Regions from separate parts of the Homo sapiens genome. Here region 1 is linked to region 2. Evidence: promoter capture Hi-C in human tissues and cell types (Jung and others, 2019). All regions are on one chromosome and are shown on one strand. The core of a region is centred on a gene start or on the middle of the fragment in contact, and the rest is flanking DNA. Distances in the headings are between cores, read along the strand shown. Region 1 overlaps DHX35 (DEAH-box helicase 35). Region 2 holds the start of ADIG (adipogenin).

Region 1 (7,148 bases), core at 976-3,475, 390 kb after region 2:
GATGTTGAAGATGAATCGAGACAAAAAGGAAAACAAGTTACCTCTACGCCATCCTTTTTCCCTTTCAAACAAAAAGTAAAAGTAGCTTTAAAAACAGAAATTGGAGGCTCGGTGTGGTGGCTTACGGCTGTAATCCTATAGGCTTTGGGAGGCTGAGGCGGGTGGATCACTTGAGACAAGGAGTTCGAGACCAACCTGGCAAACATGGTGAAACCCCATCTCTACTAAAAATATAAAAAATTAGCCGGGCGTGGTGGCACATGTTTGTAATCCCAGCTACTTGGGAGGCTGAGGCAGGAGAACTCTTGAACCCGGGAGGTGGGGGTTGCAGTGAGCCAAGATTGCACCACTGCACTCCTGCCTGGGCAACAGAGCGAGACTCCATCTCAAAAAACAAAACAAAACAAAACAATGTTGGAACTAAAGCATCAAGAGATTGTTAAAGATCACTGCCTCTTCCCCAGCACCATTATGAGGCCACCTGTTCCCTTGTCTGCCTTCTTTAGGCTGCTGTATAGACAATAGTGACTCTATCTTGGATGCAAGTCTGCCATGTTCACTTCTGTTTAGACCCAGTCTTATAAATGCCTCCTGATTTCTGCTTTGTATATTGTCCTTAGTGTAAGAACATGTCAACCTCTCTGGGGGCAGCACTATTGACAGCTTCTTGTTTTGTTTTGTTTTTCCCCAAAAACAGTCTACGCATAAACAAGTAGATACGTGTTTGCCCTAAGAAGAATGCAGTTACTAGGGTATTATTCACACTGTTCTACATCTCACTTCCTTTTCTTAACATATCTTATAGTTCATTCCATATCAGTACAAGTAGATATTTCCTCTTCTTAATAACTACAAATTATTCCATTATTGGAATATTTTATGACTGATTTAACCAAACTTTTGTTGATCAACATTTAGGCTGTTTGAATTTTTGGCTATTATAAACAACTCTGCAATGAGTATGCTTGTATTTATGTCTTTGTACACATATAGTATGTAGCAGTATGTCTATAATTTCTTGTTTTTTTTGTTTTGTTTTGTTTTTTTTTTTTTTTTTTTTTTGAGACAGAGTCTCACCCTGTTGCTCAGGCTGAAGTGCAGTGGCATGGTCTCGCCTCACTGCAGCCTCCCCCCGCCTGGGTTCAAGCAATTCTGCTGCCTTAGCGTCCTGAGTAGCTAGTATTACAGGCACTTTCCACTGCGCCCAGCTAATTTTTGTATTTTTAGTAGAGACAGGGTTTCACCATGTTGGCCAGGCTGGTCTTGAACTCCTGACCTCATGATCCACCCCCGGCCCTGGCCTCCCAAAGTGCTGGGATTGCAGGCGTGAGCCACCTCACCCGGCCTATAATTTCTTATAAGTGAAAATGTAAAGGGCGTATGCATTATGTATTTTGATAAGTGTTAACACGATTGCAGTTGTATTCGCTCATACTGAGAGGAACAGTACCTGAGGGTTAGAAATACATTTTGATAGTTCTACTTAAAATTCACTTTCCTTTGAAAACAGCTCATTTCACAATGTTTAAATATCGTTGTTTAGGTCTTTTGAGACAATGTATGGCTATTTGCAAGGTGTGTTATTCTTTTTCAGCTTAGGAATCATATTTTATACTTGATAGAAAATTATCAGACAGTGGTGATTGTTGGTGAAACAGGATGTGGGAAGAGCACACAGATTCCTCAGGTGAGTACATATTTAATAAGTGTCTTTACACTTCGATTTGGCTGGAAGAATTTTGTAACTTGAGAGCTCTCTTTACTATCATTTACATTTTTAAGGTCTCCTTTCAGGAAATGTTCACTTCAACTAGATATTTTTTATTAAACTTTTAGGGCTTATAATTTCTTTGGTGAGTACTAAAGTAACAGTTTGTCTTCGATTTATTATAATTCCAAAATAGTAATGGAATGGCCATCTTCTGAAAGTTACAATGGAGATTTATTCAAAGATGTGAAATATAGAGTTTTTATCCTTAAATAGTTACAGTTGAAGGGGTGGGGTAAAATGAATTTTGCTGTAGTTGTAAATAAAAATTGGCTGTTATAGTATTATGCAGTGCTATGGAAGAACCCTTTCTTACTAGGAAAAATCCTATGTGATGTGGATAGGAGTAGAAAGAAGGATCAAGAAAGGCCTTGTAAAGGAATTGGCATTTGAAATTGACCTTGACTGGGAGCTGACTGAGAAGATATTCCAAGCCAGTGAATATTGTGGTTAGAAATACTGGGGTGGAGAAGTGTAGGGTGAGTTCAGAGTGTGTCTTAAGAACCTTAACTTGAAGAGTGAAGACTGACTGAGCTTGAGAGACCTTGCAGGTTCTTACTTCCTTTTTTAATGTTAATTTTCTTGAGGTATGACATATATGTAGGAAAGTACCTATATCATAATTGTACACCTTGATACATTTCTGCAAGTGGAATACATCTGTGTTACCAGCACCCAGATCAAGAAGCAGAACATTACCAAAACCTCAAGAACTCTTCTTCTGTGTTCTGTTCTCATCTCTAACTGCCATGTCTGCTTACCCCTACAATCATGAACACAAGGGTAGCTCTTATTCTGGCTACTAACCTCATAAATTAGTTTTGCGTATATTTGGAATTTTATAAAGGAATAATATAGCTGCTTTTGTCCAACGTTATGTGTGAGTCTTCCTTGGTGTTGAATTAGTTGCAGTTTGTTCATTCTCATTACTGCATAGCAGGGTTCGGCAAGTCACAGCCAGTGTGCCAGATGCAGCCCGCTGCCTGTTTTGTAGAGAAATCTTTGCTGGCACACAGCCACTCCTACTTGTTGATATATTGCCGGTGGCTCCTTTCAGGCTACCACACAGGGTTGAACAGTTTTGACAGAGACCCTACGATCCTCAAAACCTAAAAATTACCATCTGGCCCTTTACAGAAATGTAAAATGTAATGCTAACCCCTGCTAGTTAGTATTCCACTCTATGAGTATTCTGTGGTTTGTTTATTTTTCCTGTTGTTACTGACATTTGAGTCATTCCTAGTTTTTAGTTATGGATAGTGCTGCTGTGAACATTCATGTGCTTGTCTTTGGTGAACGTATGTGCACATTCTCCTGCTGGGCTCTACCTAAGAGTAGCATTGCTGGATCCTGTGTTCAACTTTAGTAAATAATGTCTAAGATATTCAAAGTGGTTGTGTCCTTGTAGGGTTTGCAAGCAAGTAAACAATATGACAAGCTGAGCTTTAGATAAATGATTATATTGAGATATAAGGTGACTTAGAAACTGGAGGAGGCAGGCCATAGAAAGCTATTGCAGTGGTCTAGAGAAGGATGGTGTAACGGGGTCCTCAACCAAGAGGTGATAGTGGGATAATCTGGTGAGGATGGGAAGGAGAACAATTTACAATTTTAGCGTTAGGGTCTGTAGACATTAGAAACTTAGGTTGGTGCTTTTGCACCAATCTAATAGATGGATATTTGTGATGACAAAGGGGAAGGGACAAAGGTGCACAGTGACTGATCACGACTTGCTGCCTTGGCGAACAGTGCTAGTATTAAATGTGATAGAAAAGTAAAGATTGTTTTTTTGAGGGGAAATTAATGTGTGTGTTTTTAAACATATTTATTTTTTCCTATATTATTGATGGCCTTTGATGACATTAGCAGGAAGTTTGGAATGGGAATCTGAAGCTTGGCAGAGGTCAGACGTAGAAGGTGTGGACATAGGGATTGAACATCCTGATACATGCAGGAAGGAGATGGAACAGAAATAACTGAGAAGAGGATTAAGGACAAAGTCCATGGAGCATCAACATTCAGGAGTCAGGAGCAGAAAGGAGATAGAATGGCAGCCAGGGAAATGACAGAGGAACCAGCAGACTCTTCATGGTTAGAGAAAGCAAAGACAGAGTGAGGTTTCTGGAGAGGTGGGTAGGTGGCAGTTTCAGCCAACAGAGCGGCCAGGGAGCAGGAGAACTGGTTCAGTCCTGGGTTATTCATCTTGGAGATAGCACGTCCAGTGGTAGGGTTTTAGGGTTAAGGGTGTCTAAGGGTAAGATGATAAAAATCCCTTTGCATATTTGAATATGTTAACAATGTGTTGTTGACTGTTTGGTCCAGACTTGTGGTCATGCCAGGATCTGTGTAGATCTTTTTTTTTGTCTGCTCCCCAACTCCATTTTGAATAATGGGTTTATAAATAGGTTGGGACCCAGATGTAGGTATTTTTTTAAAGTTTCCCAATAGACAGCTAGGGAAAGGTAGACAGACCTAGTAAAGGTAGATGACCTAGTAAAGGACAACTTGAAATGCATGCAGCAGAGGAAATGGTGGCCTGGAGGAAAAAGATAACCGTATATGCAGATGGAATTGAGAGCCTAGTAAGTTACTCATTTCTTACAGGAAGAAACAGGAGAAAGGTTAAATTACTGTGTGATTGTCATTTAGAGAGTAATATAACAATAGTATAACAAGTAATAACAGTAATAAGTGCTACATAAAGTGATTTTACACATGTTGATCTGTTTAATCCTCAATGACCCTATGAAGCAAATACCATTATTATCTTCATTTTATAGGTGAGGACACTGTAGAGAGTAATGAGGTTATGGAATATAGAACAGAGGTAAAAGACCACATGATGTTCCAGAATTGTTTGGGAATTAGTCTGTGACGTTATGTAGTCAGCTTAGGATAAACTATGTTCTGGTAACAAAGAACCTGAAAATCTCAGTGGCTTAAAAACACAAAGGTTTATTTCTTGCTCATACTGTGTGGTTATCTTGGGTTGGCTTTGAGATTCTATCACATCATCATTGGGCCTTAGGCTGATGGTACTGCTCTTATGAGGCACTTGTTGATCTTGTGGTAGATGGCAGAATCATGAGACAGCTCTTAAAACTTCTGACCAAAAGTGGGCCTTCTGTTCACATTTCATTGGTCAAAGCAAGTTATATGGCCAGGCCTGATAGCAACGGGGTGACAGTGTATATAATCCTCCCATAGGGATGGGTGGCAGGTATTTGGAACAATGATAAATATATCACAGTGATTTGGCCATTTACTCCTGCAAGGCTTAGCTGCCAGGGAACAGAGAGGGCCTGCTGTGTTACTAAGTCCAGGGAAAGCTGGTGGGAAGGAGAAAGAGCAGAGGCTGAGGATCTAGGCTGGGTAATGTGGGCAAACAAAGGTAGTTTTTTTTTCTTTTAATTTTAAGATTTGAATATTTTTAATATTTTTGAACATTAATAGGTTCACATGATTTAAAATTCAAAAGGCACAAAGGGACATACAAAGATTTCCTTCTGCCCTGTCTTCCTGGTACCCATTTCCTTTGTGCAGTTATAATCAGTATTATGAGTTTCTTGGTAGAAATTTTTTCATGCATTTACAGAGAAGTGTCTGTGTGTGTGTGTGTGTGTGTATGCACATATATGCCCTATTTTAAACATGAAACATCTATACATGTTTTAGTATGCCTTGACTTTTTTTTTTTTTTTTACTTATTCTTTCATTTTAAAAAAAAACTGTTTTGAATTGACACATAACTGTGCATATTTATGGGATTTAGTGTAATGTTTTGATATATGTATATGTTGTATAATGATCAAATCTGGGTCATTATCATATCCATCACCTCAAACATTTATCATTTCTTTGTGGTGAGAACCTTCAAAATCTCCCTTAGCTATTTTGAAGTCTATGGCACATTATTGTTAACTATAGTCACTCTGCTGTGCAGTAGAACACCAGAACTTATTCCTCCTATATAACTATAACTCTGTGCTTGTTGACCAACCTTTTATTCTCCCTACTCCCTGTTCCCCTCTTCCCTCTGCAGCCCCTAGTATCCACTGTTCTATTCTCTACTTTTGTAAGATCAACTTTTTTAGATTCCACATGTGAGTGAGCTCATGCAGTATTTGTCCTTCTGTGCTTGGCTTATTTCACTTAATATCATGTCCTCTAGGTTCATCTGTGTTGGCGCAAATGACAGGATTTCATTCTTTTTTATGACTGAATAGTATTCTATTGTGTATATATATCACATTTTAAAAACCAGTTCATCTGTTGTTGGACACCTAGGCTGATTCCATGTCTCGGCTGTTGTGAATAGTGATGGGAGTGTACATGTCTCTTTGATGTTCTGGTTTCCTTTCCTGGGAATAAATACCCAGTAGTGGGATTGCTGCATCATATGGTAGTTCTGTTTTTAATTTTTCGAGAAACCTCCATATTGTTGTCCATAGTGGCTGTACTAGTTTACATTGTCACCAACAGTGTGCAAGAGTTCCCTTTTCTCCACATTCTTGTCAACATTTGCTGTCGTTCATCTTTTTGATAGTAGCCATTCTATCTGGGGTGAGGTGGTATCTCATTGTGGTTTTGATTTGCATTTTCCTGATGATTAGTGATGTTGAGCATTATTTCGTATATATGAAATAATACACTGTGCATCTTCTTTTGAGAAATGTCTATTCAGGTCTTTTGCCCATCTTTTTTTTAACTTTATTAAAATACTGAGTTTTATTTCACATTTATTTTACATATTTTTGTCTCCCCACCATTTCCATGTCTGACCACCACTACTATTATGTCCTATCATGACATTCCATACATACCTAAAACCAAGCAAAGGGTGGAGTTCCATCTTTAAAAATGAAACAGGCATTTTGGACAACGCAGTCTTGGCAATGGAACCTGGACAACATTTATCAAACACGGTAGGGAAAGTTCTCACTCTGCATTATAAAAAGAACAGCCAGATATCAACTGTTGCTGCTTGCATTTTTGCTTTAGTGTTTTCTACAGAACTTTTGATATTTTAGGAATTTTTTTCTTGTTTTTTGAAGGATTCTTGTCCTTTTGATCTTGGTGTTGGTGGTATTGAGTCTTTTCCATTCTGATTTGACTTTTGTGCATTTTTTGGCTGGAGTATCTTGTATAGCTTTCTTTACTGGGGCTTTTTCTTCAGTTTCCTCATCATCAAAATCATCATCATTAGCAGCAGCAGCAAGTTTTACTTTTTTCTCTGGAACGTTGCTACCACCTCCAGGGGCAGATCACCTTCCAGATATACTTAAGAATTTCACATCTTCTTCCTCTTCATCTTCTGACTCTGCATCTTCCTCTACAGCTACTAAGTGCTGTCCACTAATATGCACTGGCCCTGAGCCAC
Region 2 (6,128 bases), core at 691-3,190:
ACTGCCCCCTTTGTGAAGGGCATCTTGGAGCCAGATGAGTGCCTTCAGGCCTGGATCACACATAGTGGAGTGAATGGACCACTTGAAACAATCATGAGAACCATTGTGGCCATGCCTCTGCCAAGAGCTGCTGACGTGTGCCCTCTGAACTGTGCCTGGGAGCTGCCTACCTTGCACTGTGTGTTCTGCCTGCTCTGCCCACGCACAACAGGACCTCCAGCTGGGCCTAGTGGCCAGAGACGCTGACTGCACAGTAGCCCTGTTTTGGTGTCTGGAAAGGTTTTGTAGCCAGAAAAAAAATGTGTGCTCAAGCCTTTCCCAGCTATGCTGCTCAGCTCTCTCTCTGACCGCAGCCCCTTCAGGACCCAGTTCCAGGGAATCACCCCCAACCCAGACCACCTGCTCCTCCTTCTCTTGGCCTCTGGGCCCTGCATCAGGAGCACCCTGCCAGAGCACTGCTCCTCTTGGACACTCATTCTAGTCCATTTTCCCAGACTTCCTCTTGTAGGAATTCTGGCCTTCCCACAGCTGGGCTAGGACTCTTGAAACCATGCCCCAGCTCTCCCAGCCCCTCCCATGCTCTTATTTTTTCCTGTTGCTGGCCCCATGCGCCCTTCTCCTTGAATCGGTGTCTTTTCCTATAAGGGGGTTTTCTACTCCATGTTTTTCCCTAAGTTTACCACCCCCTTCCTGCAGCTGCTCCCCCGCCTGGACCTGGTTTGCCTTTTCAACAGGTGCTTTTAAGTCATGAGATGCTGTAGTCTCAAAATCAAGCCTGCATCAGAATCATTCTAGTTGCTTATCAGTGTGTTGAATCCCAAGCCACACCCCCACCCCCAAGAGGTCTGAGGAGACGAAGGTGAGCCTGGGAATTGGCATGTTTAATAAATACACTCCAGCACCCACCCACCTGCTGGCAGTCACAGGCAGGTGGTCCAAGGGTCCTCTTGGAGAATACCATGCAGCAGCCACTCCAGTGGGAAGCCCGAAGCCTCCTTTCTGCCATGGTCTGGCACATGGAGGTTTACTGAATACTTGATGAGTGAACGGATGACAGATAGGAGAAGATGAGGATGACATGTGGAAGTGTTCTGGCCACTCAGGAGATAAAGGAACAAGATTCAAGTCGTTAGAAGCCCCTCACTGAAAACCCTAATAAGGAGAGGCACAAGCTTTCAGATTAAGTAATAATCATTTATAGTCATTTAATCTAGTAATAATTAGAATAATCTACTATGTGTTAGATTTTAAAAGTTTTCAGTGGCAGCCCAGTGACCAATCCAGCCTGGCAGACGTTTTGTTTAGCCAACAGTGCTTTGACAAGGTCTGATCCGACATTTTAAACTTGGGAGATTTCACAGAAATCCAGACTTTTTGCCTGTCTTGGGAAAGTTAGGAGTCCTGCAATAATGGACCTGCATTTCACTTGTAGCAGTTATTGGTTGGAGCTGCCATCACTGCATGCTTAGGATGCAGTAAGCTGCATCCAGTTTGCCGCAGTCCCCAGCACCCCCACCAAGTGTGGACGTGGGCACCCACAGCTGGTATTACAGGACCTGGGGACCCAGCTGGCTCCTGGAGGGGGTCTGTGACTTCAGATATATGAACACCGATCCTGGGGGTAATTTTTGTCCCATCTATTTTTCTAACTTAACAGAATTATCTCCATCTTACAAGAAAAAGGGTCAGAGGGGTGTCATGAACCCAATAGCTACTGGACTGAGATTCAAGCCCAGGCCTGCCTGGAAACCTGGGCTTTTTAATTCTCAGCCAGACTGTCTGTCTCACTGCCTCACTTCCCACCCTTTCATCCAGAACAGCTCTCCCTCAAAGTGTCCCCTGCATGCTTTGCCTGAAGTACACTGTGACTTCTTTGTTATGTCACAGCTTAGTCACAGTTGGGCTGAGAGCAGAGCATGGCCCAGCCTGCCAGGTCCCATGGGGCAGCCCTGCCAGCCCAGCCCAGGCTGGCCCAGCTTAGCCACACATGCGCCATGAAGTACCCTTTGATGCCGCTGGTGAACGACCTCACATTTTCTTTCCTGGTTTTCTGGTTCTGCCTCCCTGTGGGTTTGCTGTTGTTATTGATCATCTGGCTACGCTTCTTACTTAGCCAAGGTGAGCTTCTTACCCCGTCCAGGCAGGACCCTAATCCTGGAGCTAGGCAGGGGGCCAAATAGGCCAGTGTGTCCTGAAACAACTGCAGAAGGGGCTTCCTTCAGTCATTTTAAGTGCTCGCTTAGATACAAGCAGTCAACTCTTAAGTGGAAAGGATTGGTTTGGTTGTTTAGGGTTTCTTAACCTAGAGTTCGAGAGTGAGTCCTAGAGTTTGAACCTAGAGTTCGAGAGTGAGTCCTAGAGTTTGAACCTAGAGTTTGAGAGTGAGTCCTAGAGTTTGAACCTAGAGTTCGAGAGTGATCTTTTGAACAAATCAGAGGTTATCGCTCCAGGCAGATGAACTTCCAGGTGCCCCTTTCAGCTGGGGTGCAAGGCTCTGTGAGCAGAGCGTGGGCTGGATTTCAGCCCCGCTCACCCTCTCAATTGGCTGCTTTTGTGCAGTAAACAGCTTGCACGATGGGATACAGCAGCCTTAGGCATTTTTCAGATACCTGCAGACCACTCACTGTTTCTGCCTAAGCCATGTATCAGAAAGGATCTGGCTGCTTTGGGAGACAGGCTCATGGAAGCCAGCTGACATTCACCCTGACCTCAGCATGCCACCAAGAGGAGCAAGAGGTGGGACGAAGCTGGCTGTGGAGGAAGCTGGGGGTGGCTGGATCAGGATATGGCCTGGCTGTGTGGCAGGAGTGGGACTTCTGCTCCTCTGGCATGTGTCTCCCTGAGCATCCCCTTCAGCAAGAGGTCTCTTCCTGCTGGACACAGTGGCTCACACCTGTAATCCCAGCACTTTGGGAAGCCAAGGTGGCCAGGTTGCTTGAGCCCAGGAGTTTGAGACCAGGCTGGGCAACGTCCCTACAAGGAATACAAAAATTAGCCAGGTGTGGTGGCATGCATCTGTGGTCCCAGCTACTGAGGAGGCTGAGGTGGGAGAATTGCTTGAGCCTGGGAGGTCGAGGCTGCAGTGAGCCGAGATCACACCACTGTATTCCAGCAGACAGAGTGAGACCCTGTGTCAAAAAAAGGCCTCTTCGTGGGGACCACTTGACCTCCTACCTCCTGCTGCTGAGTGCCATGACCTTTGGCAAGCTAGGCAGGGAGGGCGCAGCACATGCCGCCAGCAATGGTCAGATGTTGTTGAGGCAGGGTGAGAAGTCCCTCCCCACACCCCTGCTAGCCCCATGATCTCAAATGTAGGGGCTTATAATTATGTAATTATTGGGAGTTCCTGGCAAGAACTTGGGATGTCCTTTTGTTTCTAGAAAGTGTTTATTTAAAGTATATTCTCCTCATAGTCCTAGGGTAGACCACAGCCCTCCCTGAGGGGCACGGTTTAGGCATTGGGCCCCACAGCTGGTAGGGAGTCAGCCTTGTTTGCATACTGGCGATAAAAGTTGTCTCTCTGGAGTCTGGAAGATATGAGTTCAGATATCATCCTTTTTTTTTTATTTTTATTTTTTGAAACAGAGTCTTACTCTTGTCAGCCAGGCTGGAGTGCAGTGGCACAATCTCGGCTCACTGCAACCTCTGCCTCCTGGCTTCAAGCGATTCTCCTGCCTCAGCCTCCCAAGTAGCGGGGATTACAGGTGCCCGCCATCACACCTGTCTAATTTTTGTATTTTTAGTAGAGATGGGGTTTCACCATGTTAGCCAGGCTGGTCTCGAACTCCTGAGCTCAGGTGATCCACCCGCCTCAGCCTCTCAAAGTGATGGGATTACAGGCATGAGCCACCGCACCCAGCCTCATCCTTGCTTCTTAATAGTTCCTAATAATAGTGAACCTGTTTGGAACACTGACTATATACCAGACCTTGTGCTAAACACTGGACTTGCATAATCTTATGTAATCCTCATAATAACCCTGCTTAATAATACTTAATAATATCACAATTGGGGAAACTGAGGCTAGGAGAGGAGAAGCAACCTGTCCAAGGTCATACATCTGTGAACTACTTAAGAGAGCCAATTGTCTGCCTTCAAATCCTGACTCTGCCACCTACCAGCTGCATGACTGTGGACACCTCTCTGAGCCTTGCTTTTCTCATCTACAAAATGGAGACAACACTAGTACCTGCCCCTTGGGGTTGTGACAGGCTTCAGTGGTCGATGCATATCGGGTACTTACAGGGCAGGGCACACAGTACGCATACACACCTGGCACATCGTAGGTTCCTGTAGGCTGAGAAAATAGTCCAGCCAATGCTGGTTTTGTCAATGTGGGAGGAAATGCAGGTGGTGTGGCTTTGGATGCCTTCTCCAGAGAGGAGACATTTCTCCTACCACCCAGGCCAAGGCCTGCAGCATGAGTCTCCTCCAGCATTCACTCTGCTTGGAGGCCCAACTCCAAAACCATCCACAACCTACCCCACTCCAACCCCTCCGCAGACTTTCTCCTGAGAGGCTGTTTACTGGTGTCATGTGGCGTTTTGAAATAAGTCATTTGTTAATTTTGCAACGAAGAGAAACCGTCCTTAAAGTGAGGTGGGCATTCCTCCCTCAGGTTCTCCGTCTTCTAAAACTCCCAGTATTATTGTGCGTGTTTTGCCCTTGTGCTGGGAACTGACCCAATGTCAGGGTTTGGGGGGCTAAGGGGTCAGGACACCCAGACCTGCAGTTTTCTATTCTGCTGCAGATCCCTTTATTGGAATCAGTTTGCCTGAAATCCAGTTTGAAAAGCAGACAGGAGTAGCTCTGCCGCCTCCTCCCCACCACCCCCCAACACTCCTGCTGGCTCCTCAGGGCAGTTTCAGGCCTCAGAATACAGAGGGTTAAGCGTGGAATACCCGACAGGATGCACTTTCCCAAGTCGAAGGAGGAGCAAATGGGGAGGAAAGGAGAGCTGCCTGATGAAACTGGCACTGAGGCAAAAATGATAATGGGCAGCTCAACTCCTGCAGAAGCTGGTCAGTGGGGACAGTGCTACTGTCTGGCCATGACATGGCCATAAGGTGGAGGAAGCCACACACACCCTTCAAGGGGAAGATGCCCTGCTGCCGGCATTTTCCTTTTGCGATTTGAAAGGAGTTTGCAGAAGGATGAAGGGAAACCTCCAAAGAGATGGGTTTGGGGCTGAAACAGAAGAGTGGCGCAACAACCCCTCATGGTGGGTCTTGGAGCAAGATGTTCAATTCAAAGCTGCCTTTAAATCCTCTGAGTCCAAACACACCCAATGGAACCGTGGAGTGGGGAGGCTGAATTTGCATCCAGTAGCACCACTCCCTGGCTGTGAGCCTGGACAAGTGATTTCACCATCCTCATCTGTAAAGTACAAAAAATACTAGTAATTGACTTCAGGAAGGTGTTAAGAGGATCAGATGAGAAAATGAATGTAACAACACTTTGCACATACTCTATGTTCAAAAAATACTCTCTCTAGTGAAGAACAGTCACTTCACGCTATCCTACTGACTTTTTTTTTTTTTGAGACGGAGTCTCGCTCTGTCACCAGGTTGGAGTGCAGTGGCGCGATCTCGGCTCACTGCAACCTCCGACTCCCTGGTTCAAGCGATTCTCCTGCCTCAACCTCCTGAGCAGCTGGGACTACAGGTGCGCACCACCACGCCCAGCTAATTTTTGTACTTTTAGTAGAGACGGGGTTTCGCCATGTTGGCCAGGATGGTCTCGATCTCTTGATCTCATGGTCACCCGCCTTGGCCTCCCAAAGTGCTGGGATTACAGGCGTGAGCCACTGTGCCCGGCCCCTACTGACTTTTAAGACATACTAACTGCCAACACTGTTGAAGGCCTGTGCTAAGTCCTGTGCTGAGTTTTACATGTCTGCCTTCGGTTAACCCTCATCCTAGAAGATGCTGATATTATGCCCATTGTACAAAAACCTTTGTTACTTCTCTGCAACTAGTGAAACAATGCAAGAGTTTAGTAAGAAAAATAATCTTCCCCATCCCTCTTTTTTTCTCACCCTACCTCCCCAAGATGAGTCTGTTAGCAAACTCATTAACGTGTGCAGGTTTTCAAAACAAATTGGGGAATGGTGCAGCATTTGCTTTTCA

The links. Contacts are between HindIII fragments. The study calls those that stand out against the background at their distance.
Region 1: a contact is called between a fragment that was not itself captured here and the fragment with the promoter of ADIG in region 2, in 1 of the 25 tissues and cell types used here (lymphoblastoid cells).

The regions. Positions count from the first base shown.
Region 1 is chr20:38,970,965-38,978,112 of GRCh38, forward strand. DHX35 (DEAH-box helicase 35) reads left to right here. Exons shown (of 22, transcript NM_021931.4): 3 at 1,595-1,687. It also overlaps the pseudogene NPM1P19. Among named protein-coding and RNA genes, the nearest start is that of DHX35, 12 kb to the left of the region's middle. The HindIII fragment of the contact is 6,927 bases long and covers 1-5,689 here.
Region 2 is chr20:38,579,257-38,585,384 of GRCh38, forward strand. It overlaps ADIG (adipogenin), which reads left to right and starts at 1,941. Exons shown (of 3, transcript NM_001393816.1): 1 at 1,941-2,118. The coding sequence starts at 1,995. The HindIII fragment of the contact is 13,860 bases long and covers 1-6,128 here.